6 separate regions of the Homo sapiens genome follow, and all the other regions are linked to region 5. The links are contacts of gene promoters, found by promoter capture Hi-C in human tissues and cell types (Jung and others, 2019). All regions are on one chromosome and are shown on one strand. The core of a region is centred on a gene start or on the middle of the fragment in contact, and the rest is flanking DNA. Distances in the headings are between cores, read along the strand shown. Region 1 overlaps DNAH9 (dynein axonemal heavy chain 9). Region 2 has its middle 94 kb from the start of PIRT. Region 3 overlaps DNAH9 (dynein axonemal heavy chain 9). Region 4 overlaps SHISA6 (shisa family member 6). Region 5 holds the start of SHISA6 (shisa family member 6). Region 6 has its middle 26 kb from the start of DNAH9.

Region 1 (3,263 bases), core at 764-3,263, 390 kb before region 5:
TCCTGTGCATTCAGACTGCCCTAACCCCTCAGTGTTTCATGGAGCAGCAAAATCAAGATGTGAAATGCTTTTAATTACTTTCTGGCTCCTAGACTGTGTTTCTTCCATTGTGATGCTTTTCTGAGATGAGGCCATGTAGGACTCCAGTTATATTTAGGATATACCAATACACTGCTTCTAAACGTGCCTTCCATGATAACCTCTCATCTCCACCTAGCACTTGAAGTCAGAGGGTGACGAAGTACAGCAGTGGGCAGCCAAATCTGCCCAAAACTGCTCAGTGCATGGTTTTTGCATTTCAAAAGAGAATTAAAAAAATTGAAAAGAGGGCCGGGCACTCTGGCTCATGCCTATAATCCCAGTACTTTGGAAGGACGAGGCAGGCACATCACTTGAGGCCAGGAGTTCAAGACCAGCCTGGCCAACATGGCAAAACCCGTCTCTACTAAAAAAAAAAAAAAAAAAAAAAAAAAAATTAGCGAGTCATGGTGGCGTGTGCCTGTAATCCCAGCTACTCGAGAAGCTGAGGCATGAGAATCACTTGAACCCAGAAGGCATAGGTTGCAGTGAGTTGAGATCGCACCACTGCACTCCAGCCTAGGCAACAGAGCAAGACTCTGTCTCAAAAATAAATAAATAAAAATAATAAATAATAAAATGAAAAAGAGTGTGTGACAGAAAACACATGTACCCATAGTCTAAAATATTTATTCTCTGACCTTTTGTAGAAAAAAATGTGGAACCCTTGCTTTAAGTCAACGAACATGAGAAACACGATATAAAATTACATCCACATGTCCTAAAACTGGAAGCTGAACAGTCTGCATTTGTCTAAGACCTTATGCTCTTTATCCTACCTCCTTATTTCAGGTTGGGCCATTTTTTTGCTTCACTGGCATCCCAATCCTGGAGGGAGTGCAAGCTCTAGGAGCTGATTGGCATCAGCTCACAATCTTAGATGGCTCCTAGAAGTCTGAGGCATCCAGGCCATGTTATGCAGAATGACCAGGTATGGAGAAAAGCCAAATATGGGGTCCTTGGCCAGATGTTTTCCAGGTCTGACAGTTTGACTGGATTTCCTTAATGATTCCAAGGCACTCTAAGGACTCTGTAAAGGTGCTAAAAAGCCTTCCATTGGGGAGGATCTAGGGTCACACTTTCTTTCACAAAACAATCACCCAGATCTCTGGAGACAGTAAAAAGTAGCTCTGCCTCAATGGAAGCATAAGAGAGCAGACTTTTCCGAGTTCTGTGGCTCCCATCTTCTGTTGAGGAAGTACAGGTGTGTGCACAGAGGGACCACCATGGCCAACCTGCACCGTCTGTTCACAGTCCTTGGCCTGGATGTACTCATGGATTCATGTCCACTGAGGGGCCACCTAGTAGTTGGATGATCTTACAGCAGCAACAGGGGATCTAGAGTCAGGTACTCTCTCTGGTCCCTACTCCCCAGCCTTGAAAATGTTCTTCTCTGCATGAGCTTATGTCAATTGGAGATTTTGCTTTTGCTTGGGGATGAAGGAAGGGTTTTAGTTTCTTGTTGGTGAGATCACCAAAAAGAGAGAAACAAAGTAGGCAGAAGGGATCGGAGGGTTATGGTTTTCCTACTAGTTCCCAAGGCCTGGGCTGGAAGCTCAGCTGAGAAGAAGAGTCAAGGTCAGAAGATAAATAATCTGCTTTTATGAGCCCTCTGAAACTCTGGGTACAAGCAGTGCTGCTTCAGTAGAGGGAAGGTCTCCCTCTACTTCTGTCCAGAACCCATAAAATTTCAAGGATTGGAATTCTGGAACCCAAAGAGGCATGCCCTTGGCACACACAGACATGTTTTCATGGTGGGGACCATCAGAAGAAAAGCAATGGCAAGACTCCTTCAAGCACTTTTCTTGGCAGATAAAATTTAAAGGGGGTCTGTAGACATGTAGCAGATGTCGTGATTTCAAAGACTTCAAAGTGGCTTGAGAATACTTGTGAGGCATCCCTTGAAGACTCCTGAACATCTCTGGTAGAGAGGGATCTATGTGATGTGTAGGTCTGGGCATCCTTAGTGCACGAATGGAGTTTCAGCCCCACAAGTTGCCTGAGCAGCAGAGTTTCAATCATCCCTGACAGTTAATAGCATACATGATCATTTTGTAGACACATGCAAGCCCTTTCTTTGGAATTGGTTCAAATGCTTGGAGAGGGGAATCTCAAAAGGCTTCCAATGTGAATTACGGTATTGATTAAAGGCTACATGTATATGTATGGTCAATGGCTAATGGAGCCTGCCGCATTTGGGTTACCAAATACTCTAGAATAGCACAGATCCATCCATCCAGGGTTTAAGCCTCTTCTACAATTGTCCCACCCATCACAGATCCTGTGTCTGAACATTTTCAGTGCCCAGAAACTGAACTACTTGCTAAAGAAGTCCATTCCATCTTAAACAGCTTTGACAGAAATCTCTTTCCTCTACTGAACCACAATGTGACTTCTTGTAACTTCTACCAACTACTGGAACCCTTAAAGCTTTACAGAATAAGCCTCTTGATTGCTTGGTGGAACACATATCATGCTCCACTGAGTCTTCATGTCTCACGATGCAGCGTTCTCAGCTGTGCAGCCATTTACCTATGCATCATCTACGCCTTGTCCTAAACCTTCTCCTCCATACACTTTGTATTACCTGATCTGAGCGTGATATGATAAGAGCACAAATCTTCTTATTCCAGTTATCGATGCCTGAAACCTATCAATCATTACCTGGGAGGTGGTTTGCTCCAGATTGAATCAACCTAGCAGCCATGGTTAAATAGCCATGGTATTGCATGGTCACACTTTCCCTACTGCTAAAGGTATGGCACCTAAAGAGATCACCGCAGAAATTCTTCTTAAAAGTATTTTTACATTGTCACATTTTCAGGAAAGCATAAGTAATTAGCCTGAGAATCCCAATTCTGCACACTTTCTTGATATAAGAAGGATTCCCATATCCTTCTCTACTAGATTAATAAGAATAATTAATAGTTGCAGGAACAGAACAGGTGGAAAGGTATCCATATCATCCTCTGATGAGGGCCGGGGGAGTATCCAGGACCGAGTGGCTCCTGCCCCATTTACACAAACCTTAAAGGCATGCTCCAAGCCAGGTGCATCATCAAAAGCTTGAATAAAGATAGTCCCCAATCTTCGGTCAAGATCTTCTACTTTCTGGTTAAATTCAGAGACGTCATTTTCAAAGTCCTGAAGAGACACCATATATATATAAGGAAAACGTAATTTTC
Region 2 (2,954 bases), core at 233-2,732, 310 kb after region 5:
ATTTCTCCACAGTCACTTTGTTATTGTGAAATTTTCAAAAGTCAAATATTTTAATCTCAATTGGTCAGGACCAGTATTTCTTCTTTGACTTCTCCTCCATCATACCTTCTTTCATATCTGGTGGCACTGGGATGGCCATGAGCATTTTGGAGATACAGTTAAAGGTAAATTGAGTTGGGAATATAATTTGAAGTTAGGTGGATATATTTACATGGTTGGCAGTCACTTCCATATATAACAAAGTTATTGCTAGCTGTCCTGACAGAGTAATGGCTTCCAAGAGGAATCCTAATGTGCAGTCTACCGATCACCCAGTGCCTTGACTTTGTACAACAAGGTGCAGGGCCAGAGTTGTGTCACCTATAACCACGGCCTACAGCTCCCAGCAGAGAAAGCTCAGGGACAGTGGAAGCAAAATGACATTTCAAAGTTGATATGGTTCGGCTCTGTATCCCCACTCAAATCTCATGTTGAATTGTAATCCCCAATATGTTAGAGGTGGAGGCTGGTTGGAGGTGATTGGATCACGGGGGTAGTTTCTAATGGTTAAGCACCATCCCCCTATTGCAGTCTCATGATAGAGTTCTCATGAGATCTTGAGATCTGCTTGTTTAAAAGTGTGTAGCACTGCCCCGCCCCCACTCTCTCTCTCCTGTTGGCCATGTGAAGATGTGCTTTCTTCCCCTTCCCCTTCTACTATGTAAATTTCCTAAGGCCTCCCCAGAAGCAGAAACCTGTATAGCCTACAGAACCATGAGCCAATTAAACCTCTTTTCATCGTAAGTTACCCAGTCTCAGGTATGTCTTTATAGCAGTGTGGGAATGCACTAACACAAAATTCTGTTTCCTACCTGACATGGCATATCTGCTGACCTTTGCACATTCACATTAAGATGGGGCCGGCCTGCCACTGACGGCAAAGGGCTGAACTCGACATTATGAGGCTCAAAGAAGACTTGAAAGTGGATGTGTTTAGGTACAGCTACTTTCACACTCCTATGGTCAAGGTCAGTGGTTCTCACTGAGGGGCAGTTTTGTCCCCCAGGGGACATTTGGCAATGTCTGATCTTGAGCAGGAAATATAATATCTCTTGACACTGTCTTATCATCTATAAACTGAGATAATATCTATCTTGCAAGGCTACTGTGAGAATTACATGAACTAATGTAGTGAAGTGTCCTGTACAGAGCTTGGAACATATTAGGGGCTCCATAAACAAATGTTCTATAAACATTTATTTCTTTGATAACCAGATAAGCAAAGGCAGAATTATCATACATGCAGTCAATTTCATTTATATGCAAGTCACTTCTAAGACAGTTTCCAAGTGTGCATTGTATCTAAAAGTGGGACTTTCTGTACCATTAAATGTGAATAAATACAGTAGCCCAGTAGAATCACTGAACTATGGGGAAGAACCACTGAAAAGCCTTCTAGGAATGTGGTTGAAATTCCAGGCACAAGACGAAGGAACAGAAAATTGTTCATACATTTCCTCTTATTCAGAAAAATATGAGCTAAAGCAGGAAGCTCAGCTCCTATTGTTGAGAGCAGCAGGGAATATTAGGGGCTGTGTGTGCTGAATATATATTTTTGTGTATTATCTTGTAAAGAGCGGCAAATTTGGCTTCATAACAGTGAGATCAAGCATAACAAATTTACTTAAATTCTTGGAGTGCATTACTGACTCACACAGCTTTTTTATATATTTCACCCCTAGAAAAGAATTTAATAACCTCTCTGCTGCATTCTTTGTCTGGGTAAAAAGCAAGGGAAAAGAGTATGAGTGGATTTGATAAATTACAACTTGTCTTGTGCATAGGACAAAACTCATTTGGCTGTTGCAAACGCAGAAAATCGGCATCTCCTGTGGATTAAAAAAAGCTGATATAGCTTAGGAGAAAGGTGAGCTTGTCCTTCTGCCCTTTGAAGCCTTAAGAACCCTGCCTGTGGGTTACACCACTGTGAAAATTCCACTGGGACAGAATTTCATGGCTGCCAGTGTTCACCTAGGCAGGTGTCCACAGAACTGGAGAGTGGTGAATATTCTGTTTGACCAAAAGGAATACAGACAAATGTCTGATGCTTGAGTGTGAGTGGCTGCAGGTCACACGTGGGAGCCCAGCTGATTGGCAGAGCTTAACAGTTCTTTGATTCATTGGGGCTTAGAATTGGCTAGATTGTGTAGGACAGTGCTGGACCCAAAAATCTGCTCTTAGCAAAACTTAACTTGCCATAATTAAGGCAGATTCACAATTACCAGCACATCACCTTTGACCTCTCTCCAGGTGAAGATGGGTCTAAGAATTTGCGAGTCAGAACATGTGCAGCCGTGGAATTCTGGCCCAGTGGAATCTTCATAGGGGTGTGCATGCGGCAGGATCCAATCCCCTGGGATTTTATTACCAAATGTTTGCTGAAATCTCCACCCTGGCTCTTTAGGTAGCAATACTGCAATACTGTAGTCAGAGGTTGAAGGGGACCCAGAAGACAAGCCCAGACATCATTGTCCTAGTCCTTCTCGAATTTGTCCAGTCCCATAAAGGGTTATTCAGCTTCTCCAGCAGCTGGAAGACTCCAGGATGAAAACAAATCACTTTCTATAACACTATCGACAGCTGCTCCAGATTTGCAGGATTTTTCCTTTGTGGCGGATTAGTTATTTAACTTGGTGAAGGTTAATGACTCATGGGGTTTGAGTCTGGCTGGATCAGTAGCTCACAGTCCTGACTACCCATTAGAAACTCTGGAGGTGCTTTTAAAAAATGTCAATGCCTGTGCTCCACCACTGAAGATTCTAATAAAGATGGACTAGGGTGAACCCCAGGGAGCCCAAAGCTTTGAAAGCTCCCCTGGTGTTTCTGATGTGCAATAACTGGCTGGAGAAAGTGCAAAGCATAAGAGAGTGTCTTTAGAAGAGACAGCAGGAAGCATTTCTCACCACACATGTAAA
Region 3 (2,982 bases), core at 165-2,664, 360 kb before region 5:
GTACATCAGGAGCTGATGCAAGGGTATGATGATCATGAAGGAGCATGGCACTCAAATTGGGTAAGAGAAGAGACCGTGTGCATGGTCCAGGGCCAATGGGAAGGAGCCAAGGTCAAGAGATTGGAGCTCCCAGCAGGATCAAAGGACTGTTGTAGTCAGGGTATGAGAGAGAGTGAGCTGGAAAGATGGGAGTAGTGGTCAGAGAAGGAGGTGCATAAAATTGGACAATGAGGTTGGTGGTTGTTGGGAATGCAAGGTCTGGAAATGGCCATGGGAGGGGCTGCTTATGATCGGGAGGAGGACAAGATCACTGGAGGACAAAGATACAGAGAACCCAGAGGCCAAGTTATTGGAAGGGTCATTCACATGTCTTTGGAAATAACCACATATTAGAAGTAATGTTGGGGAGAGCCACAGTGAGTTGGGAGGCAAAATCATACACACGCAAGGGTAGCACCATCTGTACAGGATGCAGCAGTGAGAGTGGATGATGTCCTTTGATGACAGGAGATTCAAACTGGAGGCTTTTTGATGTGGATCTAGAGCAGCAAGGAGGAACAAGGAGGCCACCTGCCCCAGCTCCAGGCTTAGGAGAAGGCTGTAGGGGAAACGCAGCTGAGTCCTCCAGGAGGAGCCAGGATGGGTTACAGCAAGGTGACAAGGATCCATCAGATGGGTGAGGAGGATTTTAAATAGGATGAAGAGTGACAAGAATTCTCATCCTTTATGGAACACCTGCAGTGTGACACTCTATTCCAGGTGTTCTAATATATGATGTCTAAATTTCATAGCAACCCTGCAAGACAGTTTTGGACCTGGCAGAGTGAGCACATCTGCTCACATCACACTGCTGAATTTAACCAGAATTTGACTTAGGTCTGTGAGATTCCAAATCTTATGCTCACATTCCAAAATGCAAAAAGTCAAAAAAAAAATCCAAGTTTCAGAGCTAGGAAAAATAAGTTGGCAGTAGTGAATGATGTGGTTGGAGGAGGAAGTAAGGAAGTAGGAGAACAAGTTACTAAATTCTGTTAATTCTTCCTTTCAAACATTTCTTAGGCACATTTTCCTTTTTTACCTTGTACTCGTAGAATGGAACAAAAATAATATTAAAATTACAGCTTTCTCTCAGCCAACACCCTCAATCCTACCCCCAAACCGCCCCGCCCACACACACACAAGGCAGGAAGACGTCTCTCAGCCAGGTAGGTTCTTCTGGCTTTAGCGATGCTGCATGGGGAGGTGGAAGGAAAAGGGGAGCAGGTAATCAGAGACTATTAAGCTGATTACAAGGTGCTGAGAGAGAGGAGAGGGGGTGGACAGGAGGGCTGGGCCAGAAGGAGGGTCTTAGCAGATGGGAGGCCAACAAGCCTTGAAAGAGACACTGGATCAGCTTCAGGGTATGGAATAAAAGTAGATGGATGGACAGAAAGTGGAATAAAGTTACTGGTACAAGCTTTGAGAAATGCAAGGAAAGGACTTGAGTTATTTTTAAAATAAGTTATTTATTTAGGTTTTAAAATAGGTAATACATTTACATGGGGCAAAAATTTAAACGTACAAAAGCTTTTACAGTGGGAAGTAAATCTTCCACCTACCCCTGTACTTCAGTTACTGTTTCTCCTTCTTGTGGATTACTGTTAAAGAATGTCCTCTCTTCCTCCCTCCCTCTCTCCCTCCCACCCTCCCTTCCCTCCTTCCTTTCTCTCTTCTTCCCCTCCTTTCTTTTTTAAACATAAATAGTAGCATACCATCCATGCAATTCTGCACTTCTTTAAAAAATTATCTTAAATTGCAGCATTATTCACAAAAACCAAGAGACAGAAACATCCTAAGTGTCTATGATGGATAAATTTTTTAGAAATGTGGTATATACATACAATAGAATATTGTTAAAAAAAGAAAGAAATCCCGCATATGACGATAGGCGGTGACGATATGGATGAACCTTGAGGACATTATGCTAAGTGACATAAGTCAGTCAGAAGGAACAAATACTGCATGATTCCACTTATATGATGAGTCAGGTTCATAGGAACAGAAAGTAGAATGGTGCTAGCCAGGAGCTCAGGGGAGCGATGTGTGGCTTGCTGGGTGTGTGTGGAGTTTCAGTGATGCTGGACGGGGCAGTTCTGAGGATGTGTTGCACAATAATGCATATGTGGTTGACAATATTGTACTCTACACTTGGAAATTGTTGGGTGAATTTTACGTCATGTGTTTTTTTTGCCACAAGGAAAAAATTACCCTAAGGAATAACTCCGGTTGGACATGGTGGCTCACACCTGTAATCCCAGCACTTTGGGAGGCCAAGGCAGGAGGATCACTTGAGTCTAGGAGTTTGAAACCAGCCTGGTCAACATAGCAAGACCCTGCCTCAAAAAAAGGAATATTCCATATCAGTCATTCTTTTTAATAGTTGCAAAGTATTTCACTGTATAGATGGCCCATAATTCAGTCACCCAGTCCCCTGTTGATGAACATTGTTTGTCTCCAATCTCTTTCAATGCACCAATGAAAATTCTTAAACATTCGAGAATTTTCATTATTTTAAAATTATTTTTCTTGCTGGACTACTTTGCTTGGCCATGACACAACTCTGAGATGGGCCTTCTGTCTCCCACATACACTAGGTTAAATCCTGTCTCTGAACCTTTGATCAGTCTGCTCTCAGTATCTTGAAAGTTACCTTGCTCTCTACTTATACAAATTCTTCTAATTGTTCAGGAGACAATTCAACACTTATGTTAAGCATGCTTCTCAGATCACAGGCCTGTCTTTCTCCTCTGAAGCCAAAAGTACTTTCTATCGTCAACATTCATTAGAGAAGCTGATCTAAGTTCAGGCTTCAGCGGGATGGCTTTCAGACAATGCACAGTTGCAAGACCATTCTGTTTGTTAAAATATTGAAATACCTCCATATCTAAGAGATCTAGCTTCCTGGGCCCTCTGTGTCCTCCTCTATCTATCCAACCCTTTCCC
Region 4 (2,976 bases), core at 45-2,544, 310 kb before region 5:
TAAGTAGACTCAGGCCCCCTCCTCGCTTGATAGTCACTCTGCCAGCTCCTGGGAAAGAAGGGAACATCCAAGAAAGCAATGCAGAGAAAACTCTACTCTCACTACATTGTGAGCTGCTCAAGGGCAGGGACCAGGTCTCATCAACCCCCATCTCCTTGCACCAGTTGGAAAAAAGAAGACAGGAAGAGAAGGAGGGAAGAATGGCTCCTCCTGTTGTATTCAGGAGTCTGCTTGTGTTGGCTCCTTCTCAGGAAAATGAGCTGGGTAGTGTGACTGAGCAAGTGGGAGCTCTCCTTGCGTGCCTTTTCTGGCTCTTCCTGAGGCTGCTTCATCACTGTGGGCATCCCCCAGGCTCCCTGCCTCTGCCTTCTGCACTTCTCTTTCAGTGTAGAGTGCCCCCACTCCTGAGGCTTCTGTTACTGCCTCCAAAGCTTCACTCACATCTTCAGCTCTAACCTTCCTCCAGACTTCATGTCTGCATTCCTGCCTGTTGAATATTTTTTTCTTGCAAACTCCAGGTGTCCAGATCCAAACTCACTGACAACTCCATCCCCCATACATACTGACTGTTTTCCTGATTCCTTAGATTTTGTTAATAAAACCCTTCATTTTTCTAATCAGTGTCATCATTGGCTCTCATCAGCCACATTCAGTTAGTAAGGAACTTTCTCCAATTCTTTCTTCAAAAGGTTTCATATCTCAACCGTCCTTTCTTTTCCCACTGTCAACATCACCACTGGTATCAACCTCTTTTCACTGATCTCCCCAGTTTCTCCCAGTTCTAACTTTTTAGACCCCACAACCTGACAAATCTGATTATACTATTGCTTTCATCATTTATTTCCACCTGGAGCATAGCACATGAAAATATTCCAATCTCTTCCTCCTAATTATAATATCCCTCAACTTCAGTGCTGAGGCACACCATAATCTGACATAACAGTGGTAGGTCTCTCTACCAGGTAGCCTGTAGGATTTATCATTGTTTTGAGTTTCTCTCTCACTAAAATTTTAATGATGTTTTCACTCTTTCACAGCAAAGAGACAAAAATGACTGATAATTCGCAATTTATGTGGCTGTCTTATGTTCTATCAAGTCTTGAGCAGGTGCCAAAAATAGATTTTCTCTGTTCAGCTGTGATCTGGTGGGAGGATATTATAATCTAAGAGGGAAACATAGTTTTATAACCCTTGGGCACTATGCTAACACTCCTCCACTCAACAATTTTCAGCCTCTTTTTTCTGCCAAGAGGCTAAAGCCCAAATCAGTTTTGAGTTTTATCAAATCTTAATTAGCCTGGGGAGGATCATAAAGTTTAACCAAGTCTCATGTCTTTCGTAAATGATATCACAAATAGCTTTGAACAAAGGAGGGTGTTCCACTCCTTGCTGTGGACATATGGAATTTATGACTGTAAGAAGTGATACAGGTGGCAAGTAGAAATGGGTCTAGCCCCTTTCTGTTTATGTCAAGAGATCATTCTGATATCGGAGACAGAAACACCAAGGGGAAAATAGCCTACAAGTGAGATTAGAGCATTGTGGCCCTGGAGGAGGGCGAGCCTGTGGCTCCTTGGACCTCCTTAGCTTCAGTGAGTTTATGACCGTGTGTTTGATGCCCTGATAGGCATCCATCCTTAGAATGGTGCCACTCGAAATAAGGAGGAAATGCAGAGTGCTCTCAATCATCTCTCACCATGTGGCGGGATCTGGGTAACACTGCTCAAAATCGGATGGTTATATTGATGATCACCTGAAAATCATAGAAAAGAAATTTTTAAAGAAGAGTTCAGGCATTCCACTATCTCTCCAACATAACAGCATCTCTCTTTACCTCTAATGTGCTTCTCTGACTTAAAGGAAGCACTTCTAAGAAAGGCAGAGGTCATTGTATGAGGCTCCAAGAAACGTCCCCTGCTGTTTCTGTCTCTCTCCTTCTGCAACAGGGTTTCCTCTGTCACCATGGTGACCCACCCACATCTCGGGATGAGGCCAACTAGTTATAGAGGCTTCGTAGGGGTGGGTGGAAGAGGAGAAGGATGGAGAGTAGGGAGTGTTTGGCAGGTATGCATGCATGCGTGCATGGACAGGGTGGGGGAACTAAGCCGGGGAAGCAGATTTCATTGAGTGGTGGGTATTAGGGTGTGGTTAACCAAAATGAGGGTGCCCTGACTTAAGGCGCTTCCACTTTACAGGACTCTGATTTGTCCCTAAGCCTTTATACAGGAGGGTCTGGATGCATCCTGAGATGCAGCAAGATGACCTGAGCTGTCCACTGCCTGAGATCAGGAGTCCTGGATTCTAGGCTCTGTCCTGCCTTTAAATGACACAGTCTAATAGTTCAAAGGCATTTCCTTTATTAATAATATTCCACTTAGATGGAATAAGCCACACAATTAACACAGTTACAGTTGCCAAACCCTGAAGTTCAAGGCGTTCCAAAAGCTTTTAAAATTGTTTGAATGAAAATGTGGCTGACCACTACAGTGCACTCTGGCATTCTATGATTGCTTCAACTGAACATTATGTTCTTGTTTTTCATTGTTGCATGTATCTGATTTCAACTAAAGCAAAGGGAAGAGGAGGCATGAGGCCTTTGCTTTAGTTTACCTAAACCGCAGGTTACAGCCCTGTCCTTCTTGCAGTCTAGAATATCTGCTTTCATTTCTTTACATCTTGTGACTGAAGCCTTCTTTCCTGCCTTTGGCCTTATACTCTGGCTACTCATTCCATAGCTCCTTCACTATGTCCCATTTCCCCTTCTATTCTGTAAATACCAGGGCTTCATAATGCTCAGGCATCTTTGTGAAGACTTCAGCTCTACTCCAAGGTTTACATCCACTTGCCCAGATTAATAGTTCCCAAATCTACAACTCTAGCTCAAGGTCCATCTTGATCTGTAGGGTTAGATTTTATGCTTATGGACATGCCCTTGAAATTCCTACCCTCACCCCAAATCATTAAGTCCCAAAGTGA
Region 5 (3,094 bases), core at 481-2,980:
TTCCTAGAGTTCTAAGGGGAGGCTGGGTTTCTGTCATCCCCTTGGCTTTGACTTCCCCAAGGGCTCACTGGGGGGCAAGATGGTGCGTCGGGGCAGCATTCAGCGTGCAACCAGGGACTGCCATAGTTTGAGCTCTTGGCGTAAGTTTTGGTAGGAGGCAGCTCCCACTGTCTTTCGAACGTAAGCAGTGAAAGATGCCCCACCAGGTTTAACACAGGCGAGTACTGTTAACTCAGAGTTCTGCCTACAGGGTTTCAAAGAACGAGTCCTCTAGTCTCAGCAGGAAAGATAAACATCCCACTCCGCAGGATGCAATGAGGAGACACCATCTGTGCTTGGTCAACATGGAATGGAGAAATCTTTATCCCTACTTCCGGCAGGAGGCATCCTTTCTATAAAACCCCAATTCCTAATGTACGAGAACATCTCAGTTGACCCTAAGCCACTTGGTACCGCTTTCAGTAAGGTTCCAACATTGGTCAGTTTCCTATATTGAAGATGACACTCTGATTTGACTCAAAAAACTAAATGCCATTAAGAACCTACACCAAAGTGCCCTCATGCCAGGAAAGCAGAACCCTGGATCCTCATCCACGATTACAGAATTTGTAACATTCTTACACTTGGAACTTCATGCACTCAACCAATTCTTACTCTGCCTTGTAAATCCCCCTACCACCAAAGCATGCATTCCCGGTTCTGAAGAAATGGAGGAGGGGGCACAAGAAGACCCTGATTTATTGCATGCAAAAGGAGCGATGGTGGAAATGACTAGAGGGCCTGGGGAGGTGTGATGATGCCGAGAGTGAAGAGGACAGGGGAAGCAAGCTGAGAGGGTGAGGCCGCGGGGAGACCGGGGCGCGCGGCACGCGGCGCTCTCACCTGTGGATGTTCATCTCCCGTGGAGGGCGGTGGGCCTTGTCGTAGGAGACCTTGGCGAAGACGCCGGCCACGATGACGAAGGCGATCACCCCGCAGGTGATGTAGACGGTGAAGTTGGTCTTGTCCTTCTCCGGGTCGTACTTGTTCTCGGGCCCCGGCGACACCACCTTGGTGCTGGGCGTCTGTACCCACACCGGGCTCTGGTAGTTGGTGCACTGGCGCTGGTCCAGCTTCTCGTGGCGCTTCTTGCAGCAGAAGCGGTAGTAGCAGGTACCGCAGCAGTACAGGTAGCCGCTCTCGCTGTTGTTACACTCGAACTCCTTGTCGTACTGGCCGCTCACGTCGTAGTAGCCCCAGCACGTCTCGTAGGTGACGGCCGCGCTGGCCGCCGCCGCCACAGCCGCCGCGGGCTGCCCCCGCCGGCTTCCCGCCTCCGGGATTCCGGGCGCCCGGGCGGTGCCGTTCAGCTCGCGGCCGCCCCGTGCCAGGGCGCCCCCGGCCCTCCGGCCCCCGACGGCAGCGCCGCCTGCACTCAGGGTCCGGTTGGCGGCGCGGCCGCGGGCTCCGTGGACGCTGGGCAGCAGGTCCAGGGACTCCAGCGAGAGCAGCAGCAGCAGCAGGAGGCGCCGCAGCGCCATGGCGGGGCCGGGCGGGAGGGCGCGGGGAGGCTTCCGCGGCAGGCCGCTCCCCCGGCGGGCCGGGCTCGGAGGACCCGCCGCGCGGGCCGGGCTGGAGGCGCTGAGCGGTCAGCGGCTCCGGGGCGATGGCGCCATCGAGGCGCGGGCGGCAGTGGCGGCGGCGGCGCGCGGTGCGCACGGACCGGCCCGGCGCGGGCTGCTCGGGCTCTCAGGCTGCGCGCCGGCTCCGCGCTCCCCCTGCGGGCTCGGCGCGCCTCCTGGGCAGCCCCATCCCCCGCCGGCGGTGACTGCGGCCCCGCGCGCGGCTCGGCTCAGGCAGGACCCGAAGCGCGGCTCCGGGCGGCGGCGGCGGCGGCGGCGGCGTGGTCCCGTCCGGGCGGGTCCTGCGGGACAAGACGGGGAGCCGGTCACGGGGTGGGGCGACTGGCGCTCCGGGAGCAGGAGGAGAACCGCGGGCAGGCGGGCGGGGAGGGTGCGCGCAGCCCTCGAGGAGAGAGACTCGGAGCCGGGAGGGGCGTAGAGCCCGCTCCCAAGACGGGGTCCCGCGGCCCTGCGCGCCTGGAACCGAGAGCGCACGGGCCGCCCCTCCAGGCGCAGCTCGGCCGCCCGGGTCCCCCAGCCGCCCGGCCCCGCAGCGCGCTCCCGCCGCAGGCTGGCTCCCTGGGACGGAGCCGGTTGAGGCTGGGGTCCGGCGGCGAGCCGGGAGAGCGCGCGGCGGCTGGACCTCACTCACTCACCATGCCCGGCTGCGACTGCAGAGGCGGCGGCGGCGGCGGCGGCGGCGGCGGCGGGGCGAGGCGGGAACGCAGCTGCCGGAGCGAGCGAGCGGAGAGCCGCCGGCTCGCCGCCTGCACTAGTGCCGGAACGTGTGCGAGAGTGAGCGAGGGAGACACACGCACTCACACACCCGCACACACGGGAGCGCCGCGAGGGGAGGGGGGACAGGGGAGGGGAGGGCAGCCGCTCTCCGCCACCCACGTTTGCACGCCCGGGCGCTCAGGGTGCGGGGCGGGGGGGACTCCTTTTCGCTTCTTCCGGATCGCAGCAGTTGAAGCTCCGCGTCACGAAAGCTCCGGACAGCAGTTATTCGACACGGCGAACCCGGCGGGCGAAGAGGGGGCCGGGAGCAGGGCGGAACGTCCGCTCTGCAGCCGGCCCGCGGCAGGGACTGACCTCCCCTGCCATTGCCTTCTCTAGCCTTCGCGACCAGTCCCCACCCTACCGGAGCCCGGGGCAGCGCGCTGCCTGAGCGGGAGTTGGGGTTTCTGCAAGCCTTTGCCTCTCCCTAGTGGTGATACTCGCAGCCAGGAGAAGAGGTCAAACCCATTGCTACAGGTTCCCAAACTGAGTCCAGGGGTCAAGTGGCTTGTCTGAGGCTGTTGGGCGACCCGTGAGCTGAGCCTACACTCTCTTCCCCTTGGTCACTCTTTCCCCAACCCCGTACCCACTACGCATAAAGGCGCTAGACAGCCCCAGGACTGGATGGCAACTCTTTGCTATACTTTTTTTTTTCCCCGCGGAGCCTCGAGGCCATTAGAAAGCTATCTGAACCTCTGAGACTCAGCTTTGTAACC
Region 6 (2,975 bases), core at 432-2,931, 330 kb before region 5:
TTTTTTTTTTGAGATGAAGTTTCACTCTTGTTGCCCAGGCTGGAGTGCAGTGGCATGATCTCGGCTCACCGCAACCTCTGCCTCCCGGGTTCAAGTGATTCTCCTGCCTTAGCCTCCCGAGTAGCTGGGATTACAGGCATGCACCACCATGCCCGGGGAATTTTGTATTTTTCATAGAAATGGGGTTCACCATGTTGGTCAGGCTGGTCTCGAATTCCCAACCTCAGGTGATCCACCTGCTTCGGCCTCTCAAAGTGCTGGGATTACAGGCGTGAGCCACCGCACCTGGACAGGAATTCTTTTTAAAGGCAGTAGTAATTGACTTATAAGGAATCCAGTAGGGAGTGATGGGGTCTGGACAGACTGGAGAGGGCATGACATTCATCCAGCCCACCTGGCCCTGTTGCAACTGATAATCCACCAGTTCCCCAGTCACAGCTAGAAGTACTTTACAAAAAAGGCAGAGCTAATTATCCAGTGATAAAAGCCCTGCCCTGGAAACAAAGAAAAAGGGGGCAAAGATCCACCTTAAGGTGGATGCTCAGTAGAGTTGCTCCCAGTTCCACTGAGTTTTCCTAATTTAAGCCAACCATCATGTGAGTATTGTGGCTTCTTTATGTAGAAGGCCCTGCTGGAGAATGGCCAAAACATTTGCTGCTCCATTTTCAGGGAGGTGTGGCATCTTTGTTTAAAGTGAGCCCTCCAACCTCACTACTTTTCAATATTAAAAGAATGAATTTTGTTTTTTCCATTAAAAAAGTAATGCATGCTTATTATGGAAAACTGGGAAATACATTAAAGTAAAAAGAAATTTAAAAATTACCAAGATTCACTAACACCGTTAGTAATTTGGAGTAGTTTTCTTCTAGTTATTTTGTTACACACACACACACATACACGAATGCATGCACATATGCACAGATGCTCCTCAACTTTTGATGGGTATTCATCCTGATAAAGTCATTATACGTTGAAAATATTGTAAGTCGAAAATGCATTGAATACACCTAACCGTCTGAGCAGCATAGCTTAGCCCAGCCTACCTTAAACATGCTCAGAACACTTACATTAGCTTACAGTTGGGCAAAATTACCTATCACAAAGCCATATTTTCTAATGAAGTGTTGAATGTCTTATGTGATTTATTGAAAACAGTACACTGTAGAGAACAGAACTGGTTGCTTGCCCTTGAATTGGTTGTTTGCCCTTGTGATGGTGGGGCTCACTGGGAGTTGTGGCTCCTGGCCACTGCCCAGCGTCATAAGACAATATTGTACCACATAAGGCTAGCCTGGGAAAAAGTCAAAATTCAAAGTACAGTTTCTACTGAACATGTATTATTTTCATACCATTGTAAAGTCAAAAAGTTGTAAATCAAGCCACCATAAGTCAGGGATGATCTATGTACACACATTTTATACATATATGCATTTATTATAGATTTATATATAATGATCCTATGATATTAGTAACATGACAAATACTGATTATTTTCTGAACACAGGCATAATGTATGCTTAGAAATGATAGAAAATAAAAAGAAATATAAATAAATCACTATAAATCAGATAGAGTCCCACCACCCAGTGCCAACATAATTTACTTATTGATATATTTACTTATTCTTTTATCTACACATTTTACACACACACAATCCTGACTTTTAAGCATACTATACATCAGAATAATCACAGTCCTAGATAGAAGATAAATAGAAAGAGGATTTGTGATAAATGCAAGCTACTGCTAAGTAGTATATTAGTGTATATTTTTAAAAATCAATAATTCAGATCATTCAGTATAATTTTTTTTTTGAGATGGAGTCTCGCTCCCTTGCCCAGGCTGGAGTGCAGTGGCATGATCTCGGCTCACTGCAACCTCCAATTCCCAGGTTGAAGCAATTCTCCTGCCTCAGCCTCCCGAGCAGCTGGGATTACAGGAGTGCGCCACCACCTCTGGCTAATTTTTGTATTTTTGGTAGAGACGGGGTTTCACCATGTTGGCCAGGCTGGTCTTGAACTTCTGACCTCAGGTGATCTGCCCACCTCGGCCTCCCAAAGTGCTGGGATTACAGGCGTGAGCCACCGCGCCTGGTCAGTATAATTTTAAAATAACCAGAAAATGACTCAGAATCCTTAAATGACCACTATGTTGCTCTCTGCAACTGAAATTTGAAGTCCACACCTACAGCTCTGATTTGGTGCATGTCTCAGCATAATACCACACTGCTCCTCACTGGTCTACCTGCCCTTCAACATGAACTTCATCAAATCCATGTTCTACAGGACAGCTCTAGTCATCTTCTGAAGGGTGACCTTAATCTTCCTCCCATACATCCCATGGCCCATCAATGGCTTCTCCTTTTCCTTAGGATGTGGGCAAATTCCTTAGCAATGGGACACACAGTAGTTCTAACCTCATAAGAGATGGTATGAGGATTCAGTGGGTTAATGCCTGCAAAGTGCTTTGATAGTACCAAGTGCACAGTTAGCATTGAGTGAATGTTAGCTATCATTATTCCTCTTTCATCACCTTCATTCTTTCCCCATATAGTGTAGGACAAGGCTATGGTAGCCCTAGATTTGTATCATTAAGGTCCAGTCCCTGACAAGGAAGACATTTTCTCTCTTTACATTTCTGTCTGGAAATTAAAGAAAAAGACTGCAGTTGGTCTGGCTTGAGCCATTGCCTACACTGGTGACTGAAGTAGGGTTGGAGTCTGTTATCAAGAGGTGTGGGGGACATAGGATGGTGGCCAGGATGATCGATGGAAGGCAAAGACCCAGATGTCCATGAATCTCGTCTCCTTTCTATCCTGTCTTGTTCTCTCATGAAGATTGTTCCTCGTTCGTAAAAGACTTATCTTCTCTTCTTGTAGTCTATCAAGGATCTCATACAGTTCCTTAATCCTGTAATTGTATGCCCCTCCTTCAAGTCTTTAGTACAACGTTCCTTCTTCCTCAATCTGGGGTATT

Evidence for each region. The method cuts DNA at HindIII sites, captures the fragments that hold promoters and counts their contacts. A contact is called where the count stands out against the background at its distance.
Region 1: a contact is called between a fragment that was not itself captured here and the fragment with the promoter of SHISA6 in region 5, in 1 of the 25 tissues and cell types used here (thymus).
Region 2: a contact is called between a fragment that was not itself captured here and the fragment with the promoter of SHISA6 in region 5, in 2 of the 25 tissues and cell types used here (mesendoderm cells and thymus).
Region 3: a contact is called between a fragment that was not itself captured here and the fragment with the promoter of SHISA6 in region 5, in 1 of the 25 tissues and cell types used here (dorsolateral prefrontal cortex).
Region 4: a contact is called between a fragment that was not itself captured here and the fragment with the promoter of SHISA6 in region 5, in 4 of the 25 tissues and cell types used here (dorsolateral prefrontal cortex, hippocampus, mesenchymal stem cells and 1 more).
Region 6: a fragment that was not itself captured here is called in contact with the fragment with the promoter of SHISA6 in region 5 in 2 of the 25 tissues and cell types used here (dorsolateral prefrontal cortex and stomach).

Annotation. Positions count from the first base shown.
Region 1 is chr17:11,632,546-11,635,808 of GRCh38, reverse strand. It overlaps DNAH9 (dynein axonemal heavy chain 9), which reads right to left. Exons shown (of 69, transcript NM_001372.4): 8 at 3,106-3,222. Among named protein-coding and RNA genes, the nearest start is that of DNAH9, 36 kb to the right of the region's middle. The HindIII fragment of the contact is 3,960 bases long and covers 34-3,263 here.
Region 2 is chr17:10,931,058-10,934,011 of GRCh38, reverse strand. No RefSeq gene overlaps it. Among named protein-coding and RNA genes, the nearest start is that of PIRT, 94 kb to the right of the region's middle. The HindIII fragment of the contact is 5,656 bases long and covers 1-2,954 here.
Region 3 is chr17:11,600,063-11,603,044 of GRCh38, reverse strand. The region is part of intron 1 of DNAH9 (dynein axonemal heavy chain 9); the gene reads right to left. Among named protein-coding and RNA genes, the nearest start is that of DNAH9, 3.1 kb to the right of the region's middle. The HindIII fragment of the contact is 3,676 bases long and covers 1-2,982 here.
Region 4 is chr17:11,550,673-11,553,648 of GRCh38, reverse strand. SHISA6 (shisa family member 6) reads right to left here. Exons shown (of 6, transcript NM_207386.4): 4 at 1,697-1,753. Among named protein-coding and RNA genes, the nearest start is that of DNAH9, 46 kb to the left of the region's middle. The HindIII fragment of the contact is 5,118 bases long and covers 1-2,976 here.
Region 5 is chr17:11,239,849-11,242,942 of GRCh38, reverse strand. SHISA6 (shisa family member 6) reads right to left here and starts at 1,730. Exons shown (of 6, transcript NM_207386.4): 1 at 883-1,730. The coding sequence starts at 1,520. The HindIII fragment of the contact is 17,378 bases long and covers 1-3,094 here.
Region 6 is chr17:11,570,505-11,573,479 of GRCh38, reverse strand. No RefSeq gene overlaps it. Among named protein-coding and RNA genes, the nearest start is that of DNAH9, 26 kb to the left of the region's middle. The HindIII fragment of the contact is 9,172 bases long and covers 1-2,975 here.